Linked DNA regions of Homo sapiens: region 2 is linked to region 1. Evidence: promoter capture Hi-C in human tissues and cell types (Jung and others, 2019). All regions are on one chromosome and are shown on one strand. Each heading gives the region's core, a stretch centred on a gene start or on the middle of the fragment in contact. The rest is flanking DNA. Distances are from core to core; before and after follow the strand shown. Region 1 holds the start of OR51F1 (olfactory receptor family 51 subfamily F member 1). Region 2 overlaps OR51E2 (olfactory receptor family 51 subfamily E member 2).

Evidence for each region. The method cuts DNA at HindIII sites, captures the fragments that hold promoters and counts their contacts. A contact is called where the count stands out against the background at its distance.
Region 2: a contact is called between a fragment that was not itself captured here and the fragment with the promoter of OR51F1 in region 1, in 2 of the 25 tissues and cell types used here (H1 embryonic stem cells and pancreas).

The regions. Positions count from the first base shown.
Region 1 is chr11:4,767,745-4,773,629 of GRCh38, reverse strand. It overlaps OR51F1 (olfactory receptor family 51 subfamily F member 1), which reads left to right and starts at 3,692. Exons shown (of 1, transcript NM_001004752.2): 1 at 3,692-4,651. The coding sequence starts at 3,692. The coding sequence ends at 4,651. All of the region lies in intron 2 of MMP26 (matrix metallopeptidase 26), which reads right to left. The HindIII fragment of the contact is 7,923 bases long and covers 1-5,534 here.
Region 2 is chr11:4,688,310-4,694,194 of GRCh38, reverse strand. All of the region lies in intron 1 of OR51E2 (olfactory receptor family 51 subfamily E member 2), which reads left to right. OR51C1 (olfactory receptor family 51 subfamily C member 1) reads left to right here. Exons shown (of 2, transcript NM_001396051.1): 2 at 2,508-3,772. The coding sequence ends at 3,437. Among named protein-coding and RNA genes, the nearest start is that of OR51C1, 6.6 kb to the left of the region's middle. The HindIII fragment of the contact is 8,862 bases long and covers 1-5,885 here.

The sequences.
Region 1 (5,885 bases), core at 2,443-4,942:
ATTCAAAACCAATTAGCAAAAAAAAAAAAAAAAACCCCACAAACACTACACCTCTGAATTCCTGTAAGTCAGGAGTCTGAATACAGCTTTGCTGAGTTTTCTCCAAAGGCTGTGTCTCATTTGAAGCCTTATTGTGGAAGGCTATCCTTCCAAGCTTATGAAGTGTTGCTAGATTCTATTAGTTCCTTGTGGCCTGTTGAGTTGAGGGACTCAGTTTCTTGCTACATGTTGGCTAGGAGGCCATGTTCAGTTCTTGGCTGGTTGTTAGCTGGAGTCCACTCTTAGTCTTTTGCCACATAGGTTTGCCAAACATGGAACCTTGATTCACCAAAGACAGATCTTATATGACATATATGTGATGATATCCTGTCAACTTTGCCATATTCTATTGGTTAGAAGTTAGTCAGAGGTCCTACCCACACTCAACAGCAGAGGATAAACATGGGCTGAGTCCAAGAAGGTAGGAGTACTGAGGGACTATTTTATTATTTTACAATCTGACCGTCACAGATATTTGGGTGAAAACTCTAGATAGTTAGCTCTTTAAGACAACAGAGGCGAAACTTTTAATTATTTATTTCTGACTTATAAAATGATTTGATTATAGTTCATTTTTGTCGTGGAAGTATTAGTCAAAACAGTTGATGGGAATGCCGGGTAGAGATATAGTGCTTCAATTGAACCCATCACACTTTCAGCCATTAAAATTACTTGAACAGGAATGCACAGGAGTAATAGCAGAGTAGAAATCAAAGAAAAATAGCTGAGTGAGGAACAAATTACTGGTATTATTGATACCTAAACAAAAACAAGACTGTCTCCACAAATGTGCAGCTTCTCTATAAAGGAGAAACAAAAGGCTTGAATGTGAGACTTTTCTTATGAACCTAGAATTAGTAGACTGTAAAGTGTCTGCATCCATTAGTCAACTGCCTACACTGACAAAAATGAAAAAACTCTCTCAATAATCAGGTGCTTGAAAGTATTAATGCAAGAAAACAGCAGGGAACAGAGTAAGAATACATGCACATGAGAACATCATTCATTCATGGTAACCCTAGCTACTAGCAAAACAGGGCCAAATTAATATATCAGGAGCTGACACATTTACTGGGGGAAAACTCAGTGTTTGAAAAAGAATGGATTTGAGAATGGACATCTATCATTCTCCCTATGGTTCAATGTGGAAATGTAGGCATAGGAGCCTAGAGACTGGGTGTAAAGTTTTCCCTCTTTATTGTGACCATAATGATCCCAGTGAACAGTGGTTTCTTTTCCTATCTTGCCAGTACACTTATAATCCAGAGACAATGATGTACATCTCTCTATTCCCCAATGCTATGAACAGTGTGTAAATTTTCTATTTATATGCATAATTTGGTTTATTTTCCTCTGCATTTAATGTCCCTGTGGACCACAGGTTACTTGGATTAGTAACTAAAACCCTCTGGGATTACACACTCCTGCCCTCTAATTTTTATAGATAGGGAGAGAGGGTGGTTTCTTTTTTGCTCTGTCTTTGGCTGCAGAGAGACATAAATCATACAAATAATCTCACAGCTCAATTCTACCTTACTATAAAGTCCATGGCTCCAGAACTGTAGTCTATCCTTCCTCATCTAGCAAAGACAGAGAAGGTTCCTCTTTCCACGTAAAGCTGGTAAGAAGGGAGATAGATATATTTATCGTGTTGACTTTTACTTTGTTACCTATTCACAAATAGTCATATGGGTTTATAGAAAAGTCAGATATCATGAGGGTTTGCCCTGTCCTCATCGATCCACATAACATGTAGATATACAACCTCTAATAATTCATACTTAAATATTTTCATAATGTTTCTCAGATTGAATTGAAAATCAGACAACTGGAGATTTAAAATAAACCACAGAATACTAGCATAAAGGGAACAGTAACTTGTATCCTTGCTACAGAATATTTACTCTCATGAATTTGACACATCTAATTTTTTAAAGACTTGATTGAAAAATACTAACATTATACTCATGAATACTGCTATTATTTAATTTAATTCTCCCCAGAATTGATTTGAACAATATAAATATATTAATTGACAAAATTATTCTTGGAATTTTACTTGAAAGAGGCGATATAGCATTTCTGTTTACTGAGCCAATTGCCCTTCTCATTCGCTGTCTCCTGAAAACGTCTACTGTATCCGGAAGCCAGCAGCCATCACTTTACACTTTTGAACAGCAGTAAATTACCCCCAAATACTTCACAGAGAAAAAGGTAACAATTTCCTTATATAACTCTCCACAAACTTACATATTTGACACTTACTAGTGTCAGTGCAAATGATGGTCCTCATTTTTTTGAAGGTTACTCATGCTCTACACTTAATCACCCACTACTTTCTTAAGGACTTTTATAGATCAATAAATCCTTCACATTCTATATTTTAAATTTCTCATTATCTGCTACATTTTTAACCTCCGTTTATAAACATATCAATTTCTCGAATTCTGTCCCATCTTGCAAAAATTCTCCATCTACCTGATACCCCTTCTTTAGACATGGCCTACTTCTCCCCTTGCCTTCACTGCCAAGTTTCTTAAAATAAACCGTACCTCCACTGCTAATACTTTCATCATTACCACACTGTAGCAGGTTCTCAATTTTCCACTGTTTTTTCTGGGATCGCTAATGGCTCTCAGCTGCATTTGAATTTTTTAATCCTTACTAGGCTTCACAGCGCAAGCAATTCGACACAGCTGCTCATGTAACATCCGGTCTTCACACCATGTTTTTTTTTTTTCTTCTTTTTTAGACGGAGTCTCTCACTGTCACCAGGCTGGAGTGCGGTGGTGCAATCTTGGCTCACTGCAACCTCTGCCTCCTGGGTTCAAGCGATTCTCCTGCCTCAGCCTCCCAAGTAGCTGGGACTACAGATACACGCCACCATGCCCAGCTAATTTTTGTATTTTTAGTAGAGACGGGGTTTCACCATGTTGGCCAGGATGATCTTGATCTCTTGACCTCGTGATCCGCCCACCTCTGCCTCCAAAGTGCTGGGATTACAGGCATGAGCCACCTGCCCAGCCTCTTTTGGTTTTCATAGTCCCCATAAAACCAGTCTCATCTTGCTTTAGTGTATATAGTGCATTCCAGTCTTCTGGAGAGTTCTGTCCTCATTGTTTTTCTCTTATAATTCTAGTCTCTGAAGTTGTTTACCTATAGTGTTGGATGAAAATGATAAATATACATTGATAACTTTATATTCCTGGCAAATATCTGGAGATCTGTGTCTGCAGACTCATACCCTTATGGTCACTGAAGAACCATGGATATTTTTAAGTGGCTATTATTCATTGTACTCACAAAATATTCAAAATTGAGGATACTTATTTTTTCTCAGCTAAGTCTTTATTCAAATAATCTTACAATATGATGCATCTTAATATATTCTGTAAATGGACACTATCATGAAAATGTATAAAATCATATGGACATATTTCCCTTGAATTTTATGGTACAAAAACATATTTTTGTGAACTATTTCTGATTATGAGTGGTAGATGAACATTATAATTTAATTTAAAGGTTTCTCAATGATGCAGATCTTATCTATGACCTTGGATAACTCTACTAACTAAAAGAAAATGTATCTAAATATTTTACATAACACTTAATGTATCACTTCTATAGGATGGAAGCATTGTGAGGACAAATGCTGCAAAACCAGGACACCATGGAAATCCTAAGCAACTCAACATCTAAATTTCCAACCTTCTTGTTGACCGGCATTCCTGGCCTAGAGTCTGCCCATGTCTGGATCTCCATTCCTTTCTGTTGTTTTTATGCCATTGCCCTCTCTGGGAACAGCGTGATCCTGTTTGTCATCATTACCCAGCAGAGTCTCCATGAACCCATGTATTATTTCCTCTTCAGGCTATCAGCCACTGATCTGGGCTTGACTGTTTCTTCATTGTCAACAACATTAGGTATCCTCTGGTTTGAGGCACGTGAAATCAGTCTATATAGCTGCATTGTCCAGATGTTTTTTCTTCATGGATTCACTTTTATGGAATCTGGAGTGCTGGTGGCTACAGCCTTTGACCGTTATGTGGCCATCTGTGACCCTCTGAGGTACACTACCATTCTCACTAATTCCAGAATCATTCAAATGGGTCTTCTGATGATTACACGTGCTATAGTACTAATATTGCCACTACTTTTGCTCCTTAAGCCTCTCTATTTCTGTAGAATGAATGCCCTTTCTCACTCCTATTGTTACCATCCAGATGTGATTCAATTAGCATGTTCAGACATTCGGGCAAATAGCATCTGTGGATTAATTGATCTCATCCTGACCACTGGAATAGATACACCATGCATTGTCCTGTCATATATCTTAATTATTCACTCTGTCCTCAGAATTGCCTCCCCTGAAGAATGGCACAAGGTCTTCAGCACCTGTGTCTCCCATGTGGGAGCAGTTGCTTTCTTCTACATCCACATGCTGAGCCTGTCCTTGGTGTATCGCTATGGTCGGTCAGCCCCCAGAGTAGTCCATTCAGTGATGGCTAATGTATACCTGCTTTTACCCCCTGTGCTCAACCCCATCATCGACAGTGTAAAAACAAAACAAATCCGCAAGGCTATGCTCAGTCTGCTGCTTACAAAATGAACAGACATAGTTTTATTTGATACAAACCTGGCATGAATGACTTGCACTGTAGAAAAGCGAACTTGCTCTCTTACTGCCTATTGCATGTGGGTTTTTAAAATATTTTTCATTCACCAAACAAATAGTAAATATGTTGTATATTTGGTCATAAAATATAAGTATGATATATCACCCAAGACATTTGTAGTGGAATTAGGAAAATAACAATAATGAAATGATAAATAATACTCCTGGCAATTAACATGTATTGACTCTTTGTTTCAGGCTAGGTGTTCTACTAACTGCTTTTAAGACATATTCCATTTATTCTTCCAAAACAGCGAAATGAAATATATATTACTATTAGCGATATATTACAGATGATGGAACAGATTTATAGACATTTAGGCCCCCAAAGGCCATGTGAATAACATGAGGCACAGTTGAGATTTGAACCCAGGTGTTCTGTATCTCAAATGCTATGCTCTTCATCACTGTATTACATACTCTGCCAAAGTCATGTAGCAGAAATGTTTTAAGATCAAAAGTAAGACCTGGATCTCCATGGTTCCATCCTTTGTCTTAAAAAGTTGTAGTAACCTTCTTAGAATATACTCTAGCTGTTTTCTTCATGGATAATTCATAATACAAAAGGTAGGAATAGATATGTCATGGCATGTGAGTCACTATCCAGTGTTGGACAGTCCAAAGAAAAGCTTTAGGGGTGAGGCACACTTGCTAATTTATCACAGGGAATGGGAACTTGAGAGAACTAGAAAAGAATGTAAAGTAAATTACAAGGAAGTTTGGGGCAGATGTTCTGAACCTTTTTCTGCATTGTGGTCCCTTAGAAAGCTAATGAAATTTATGGACCTTTCCCCATAGATAAACATACTCACATTATTTTCCATAGTTTTCACAGTTTTCACAAATGCCATTAAAGACCTATGTGACTCCTTAACCAGCTAAAGAACCAAGGTAAAGAATTCATAGTTCTTGCCTATACACAGTTTTACAGAGACAGACACAAAATGTTTGGTTTCTGAAAACGAACTTATGGTAACTCTTTGGATTTAAGAGACAGACAGAAGCTTAAAAATGTCAATTGCATATAATGGCAGAATAAAATCAGAGGGAAATGGAGATGGAAACCTAAAGGCAGTCACATCAATTTTATTGCCATTGGAAAAATAGTGATAGGTGGAAGAAATGTACCAGGTACCCCACAAATACTGAGGGCAGCAGTGTGCTGGAG
Region 2 (5,885 bases), core at 1,374-3,873, 78 kb after region 1:
AATGAAAATAGGCAATGAATAAATTGTTGAAATGAGGTAATGGGAGATATGAAGAAGTTAGGATGAAAGAGAAATTATTCAAATAGCAATTTAATTTTTTTAAGTGGTTACATAAAATGTCCTACAACACAATGACAAAAATTACAACTCAGATATTGCGTAGGAACTAAAAATCATGAAAGCCAGAATTAATTGACATAAATGGAGCCCCTCTGTACTTTCATAACCATTTTTATTATTCATCGCTGTATATGAGATATTGAAATTATTGAAAAACGGTTCTGCTCTTTCTGCCTCACTGGATTATAAACTCTCTAAGTGGGGTTTTATTTGTGTTGTCCTTTAGCTTCTAAAATAGCACTATGTAAGATCCAGATACTCAGTTAATGTCCCTGAGATAGTAAAGCAAGATCAAGAGAAGTGTTACAAGTGCACTGTTGCTCAACAGTTTTTTGTTTGTTTGTTTGTTTTTTGAAACGGAGTCTCGCTCTGTCGCCCAGGTTGGAGTGCAATGGCGCCATCTCGGTTCACCTGGAAGCTCCGCCTTCCAGGTTCACTCCATTCTCCTGCCTCAGCCTCCCCAGTAGCTGGAACTACAGGCGCCCGCCACCACGCCCGGCTAATTTTTTGTATTTTTAGTAGAGACGAGGTTTCACCATGTTAGCCAGGATGGTCTCGATCTCCTGACCTCGTGATCCGCCCACCTCGGCCTCCCAAAGTGCTGGGACTACAGGCGTGAGCCACCGCGCCCAGCCTGCTCAACACTTTTACACATGCCGTTCTGAAAGCCTGGGAATTCTTCGTCTCAACTTACATAAAACACAGAAATCTTTCAAGCACTGCTTTTTCTAGAAAGCCTTCTCCAAATACTACAAACCTACTGAATGCTCTCTTTCTGGTAATTCCTTTTTAGTGTGTTTTGGTTTTTCAAAATCATTTTATCTTATTTCTAGTTGACAAATAATATGGTATATATTTGTGGGGTAAAATGTGATGTTGTTATACATGTATGCATTGTGGAATGACCAAATCAAGCTAATTATCATATCCATCACCTCAAATATTTATCATTTCTTTGTGCTGTGAACATTTAAAATTCTCTCTTTTAGTTTTTTTGAAATATACTATACATTAACTATAATTCTTATTTCTCTAAGAGGTTTGATCATACATTTTAGATATTTTCATCACTCGCCTGAGGACACTGTCATTACTGTAAATTTCAGAATCTAAAGCTATAGTTTCATTATTTGGCCAAATCGTGTAATCTATAATTTCTTGTTTTTCATCTAGTTTTCTGTTAATTTTAGTTAAATCACACCCCCACCCCCCCTTTTTTTTTCACTAAGACTTCTTCCGGTGATCCTTGAGGTGGCACTTTATCAGGGTGAATGTGTGAGTCTGGATACGTTGAGGTTCCTCTCCATCCTCTCTTTTGTCAACACTTACTGTCAGCCACCCAGCACCCTTTCTTTTCCTCTGAAGAAGTTACCCTGCAACTGGCTCTCTCTCATTGATTGAGCCCTCTGCAGCCACAACCCTAATCTCTGTTTTTCCCTAGACCCCCGTCTTCAACTCAACCATACCCATCTATCTACCTTTCTGCAATTCTCTACTCTATGAAAAAAGAAATGTGATGTTTGCAATAAAGTTATATTTTTCCCTCCGAAACAAAACAGTAACATTCAATTAGGTATCTCCTAAGAAGTATGTCTTAACAAAATAGAGAGATTCTGTTCTGGAGAACTAGTCTTCCAGCAGACTGAAGAGAGAACTGTGTTGGAACGTGGCAGCACATTATATCAGGTGGGGGCAGCCTCCTGTCTTCCTAAGCCTGGTGGGAGGTCTGTGTTCTAACCATCTCTTCCAAATATGATGCCGGGTATCATATTGTAAGGGTTTCTTTAATGGTTAGATGCTGAAGCCATTTATTTGTCACTTCCTATGTGTTACTTTGTATTATAATGATCTCTTTCTTCATATTTTCTGGCTTCCCAAATTGTCTGTAAGCTTCTCTGCTTTCCACACTTATGACCAATGTAATATTGCTGTTCCACAGCCCCAGTGTATTTTTCTCTGGTGCCAACCATAGAGGAAAAATAATGCACTACCTCTTTAGCACAATTTAAACATGCCATAAAGAATGAAATATGATTGGCAAACTCAGGGTAAAGTGTTTATTCTTAGTTTGGTTATCTATGGCTAGAACGATCAGAGGAGTGGTCACATGATATAAACATAGCTGCCAGCAAAGGGCCCTAGAGAAGAAAGATTGTACACTAAGGCAAATTCAAAAACAAACCAAAGTGCCCACTACAGCAGTTGAAATCTGACATTTTTTAATCAATTTAAATGAGCCATTCATAGTTTCATATTATATAAATACTCATCAGTTTTCTGTACAATAAAATTATTTTAATTCGATCAATACACAAATGAATGTAGCTTTTTTTTGTTTAAGCTCTCATCTCGTTCTGTACTTTTAATTCATCACGTCAACTTTGCAGAATATCACCTCCACTTCCATCATTTTCCTGCTCACTGGTGTTCCTGGGCTGGAAGCCTTCCACACCTGGATCTCCATTCCCTTCTGCTTCCTCTCTGTAACTGCTCTCTTGGGAAACAGCCTGATCCTCTTCGCTACCATCACTCAGCCCAGCCTCCACGAACCAATGTACTATTTCCTCTCCATGCTGTCCGCCACTGACCTCGGCCTGTCCATATCCACTCTGGTCACCATGCTGAGTATATTCTGGTTCAATGTGAGGGAAATCAGCTTTAATGCCTGCTTGTCCCACATGTTCTTTATTAAATTCTTCACTGTCATGGAATCCTCAGTGCTGTTGGCCATGGCTTTTGATCGTTTTGTGGCCGTCTCTAATCCCCTTAGGTATGCCATGATTTTAACTGACTCCAGAATAGCTCAAATTGGAGTGGCAAGTGTCATCAGGGGGCTCCTAATGCTGACACCAATGGTAGCACTTCTTATAAGACTTTCCTACTGCCACAGCCAAGTACTCCACCACTCCTACTGCTACCACCCTGATGTGATGAAGCTCTCATGCACAGACACCAGAATCAACAGTGCAGTTGGGCTGACTGCCATGTTCTCTACTGTTGGTGTAGACTTACTTCTCATCCTCCTTTCTTATGTTTTGATCATTAGGACTGTCCTTAGCGTTGCTTCCCCAGAAGAGAGGAAGGAAACCTTCAGTACATGTGTCTCCCACATTGTGGCTTTTGCTATATATTACATTCCATTGATCAGTCTGTCCATTGTTCACAGATTTGGGAAACAAGCCCCAGCCTATGTACATACTATGATTGCTAACACCTACCTGCTGATCTCCCCTTTGATGAACCCTGTCATCTACAGTGTGAAAACCAAACAGATACGTAGAGCTGTGATAAAAATTCTCCATTCCAAAGAAACATAAAATTGTAGAATTCTAGCACTAGATGGACCCCTCAAGATGGTATACTTCAGGTCATGTTTCCAATTAAAAACAAAAAACAACCAAAGAACTGGTGCCCATTGAAGCTAAGCACATAATCATTTAAAGTTAAAGCTGGAATGTATCTAGAACATCAGCTAGTTTGACTACTTTATTTTCCAGATGAGGAGGTGAAGACATGGGATGGAAGAGATGAACAGCCTAAAATTAGCCTTATATATAAAATTTCTCCTTCTCACACCACTGTTGGGTCCAAACTGTTGTTGCCTTCTGTCCCTGCCAACACCCTTTCTGTTATTATCTCATCTACTTCATAGCCTTTAGAATGACACATTACAGAAAAGTCACTCCTTTGTGAGAAATAGGTAGTATTTTCCAACTGTTCTAGTAATTTCGATTGCCATTTATTATTTGCTCTGACAAGTCATGGTTCTAAGTGTTTTTTGTATGTATTAACATATTTTATATCTAAAACAATGTTATAAGATAATCACTTTAATTATCAATAAGAAAATTGAGGCATGAAATGTTAAGTAGCTTGCTTAAACAGCTAGTAACTGGTGTTGCTGATGGCAGAGCACATCCATGCAGACTGACTCCAGAGTCCCCCACACTCTTAATTTTAATGTTATATTGCTACCTATAATATAATATATAGGTATATAATTTATATATAATTTATATTTGTAAAAATTATATGAACTTATATATATAAACTTATATTTATAAATTATGTACTTATATGTGTAAATTATATTTATATTTATAAATATAAATATAGAGAGAAGTTCAGGCAATTTTTACTAGGAAACATAAAGAAGTAAAAAAATTAATTAAAAAAAACCACAACTCTATCCTCTAGAAATTTTCAGTCAAATTAGGGAGAAAAAGCCCAAATCAAATCTTCATACCTTACAGATATATTTCTACCTGATGATCTTTCCTGACTCAAGCATATTTCAGCATTTCTGTCAACCCTCCATCAACATTCTGCCCCAGCAGAAATGGAAAGTGACTACAAATGAATTATGGTCATTTACTTATGAATTTTTAAATTTGTGTCATAATGGTCATGTAATGGCTCAATTCAGAAAGATAATTCATTCCACCCTGGGTGTGTCCATTAATTCTCAAAATTTTTAAAGCATATATTTCAATGCCACACTAATATCACTAATTTAAGATGGGCTGTATAGTTGGTATCAGGTCCAGAAAGGAAGTAGAAGTAATCATTCGTATCTACAGGCTTGCCCCCTCGCTTTATGGAGATCTCTGCCAACTGCACCTTATTACAGGGCCCTTGATGTTATAATAATTATAATAGCAATACCTCTCCCTCAGTTTCTTCCTGTATTCACTCTCATCCTTACCTGCCTTATTTTTAATTTTTAGCATTTTTATTCCCCAACATATTACATATAGGCTGTTTCTTTTCTGGTTTCCTCATCATTCCCTGTAGGAAATTTATTAAGTGACTATAGTATTTATAGTACTGTAAGAATTATGTCAAATCCTCAGCCTGTTTGACAACAACATTTCAGTTTCAATTATTGTTACTCTTCATCTTTATATGTTGCAATGTCCTGGGACTTTGTTCTCAGACCTTTTTGCTTTGTCATAATCCCTTCCTTGGTCATCCCATCCAGTATCATGTCTTTAAGTACCATCTCTATGCTGACAAAATCCAAATTAATATTTGTAGTTCAGACTTATCCCACTGCCTGTGTATCAATATCACTACTTGAATGTTTCATAATCATCTTAGAATCAACGTCTAATATATACTAATATCCCCATCAAGGAAAAAGCATGCTCACCCACAGTCTTCTCTAACTCAGTAACTCTACCTTCCAATGTGTTGAGACAAAGCACTTGGAGTTATCCCTGATGCCTTTCTATCACCCCGATGCTACATCTAACCTTTTAGTAAATCCTGGTGACCCTTTCTTCTAGATCTCTCTGATATTGATGTCTAAAATCAAGTCAATTTATACCATCTCTACTGCTACCACTGTGATGCAAGCCATCATCTTGGACCTGAATTATTATAACAGCTTTCTGGTGGTCCTTCCTTCATCCACGTTTGCTTTACAGTCTATTTCCCCCCACAGTGAAGTTAGACTGATTAGTTTAATGCACAAGGCAGATCAAGTTCAATATACCCCAAGGGCATCCTGTCTTACCCAGGAAAAATTCACAGTCACTATAAAAGCATATAAATATCTATATGATCTATATTTCCTCCATCAGCCCAATATCATCTTCTACTACTCTGCCAGTGATTCACTCTATGTCACCCACACTAGCTTCCAAATATTTTCTTAAACTCATCAAGCATGCTTCAACATCAGAGTTCACACATGCTATTCTCACAACCTGGAATGTTCGTCCTCCAGAGACCCACGTGACTTACACCTCACTTTAGACAGA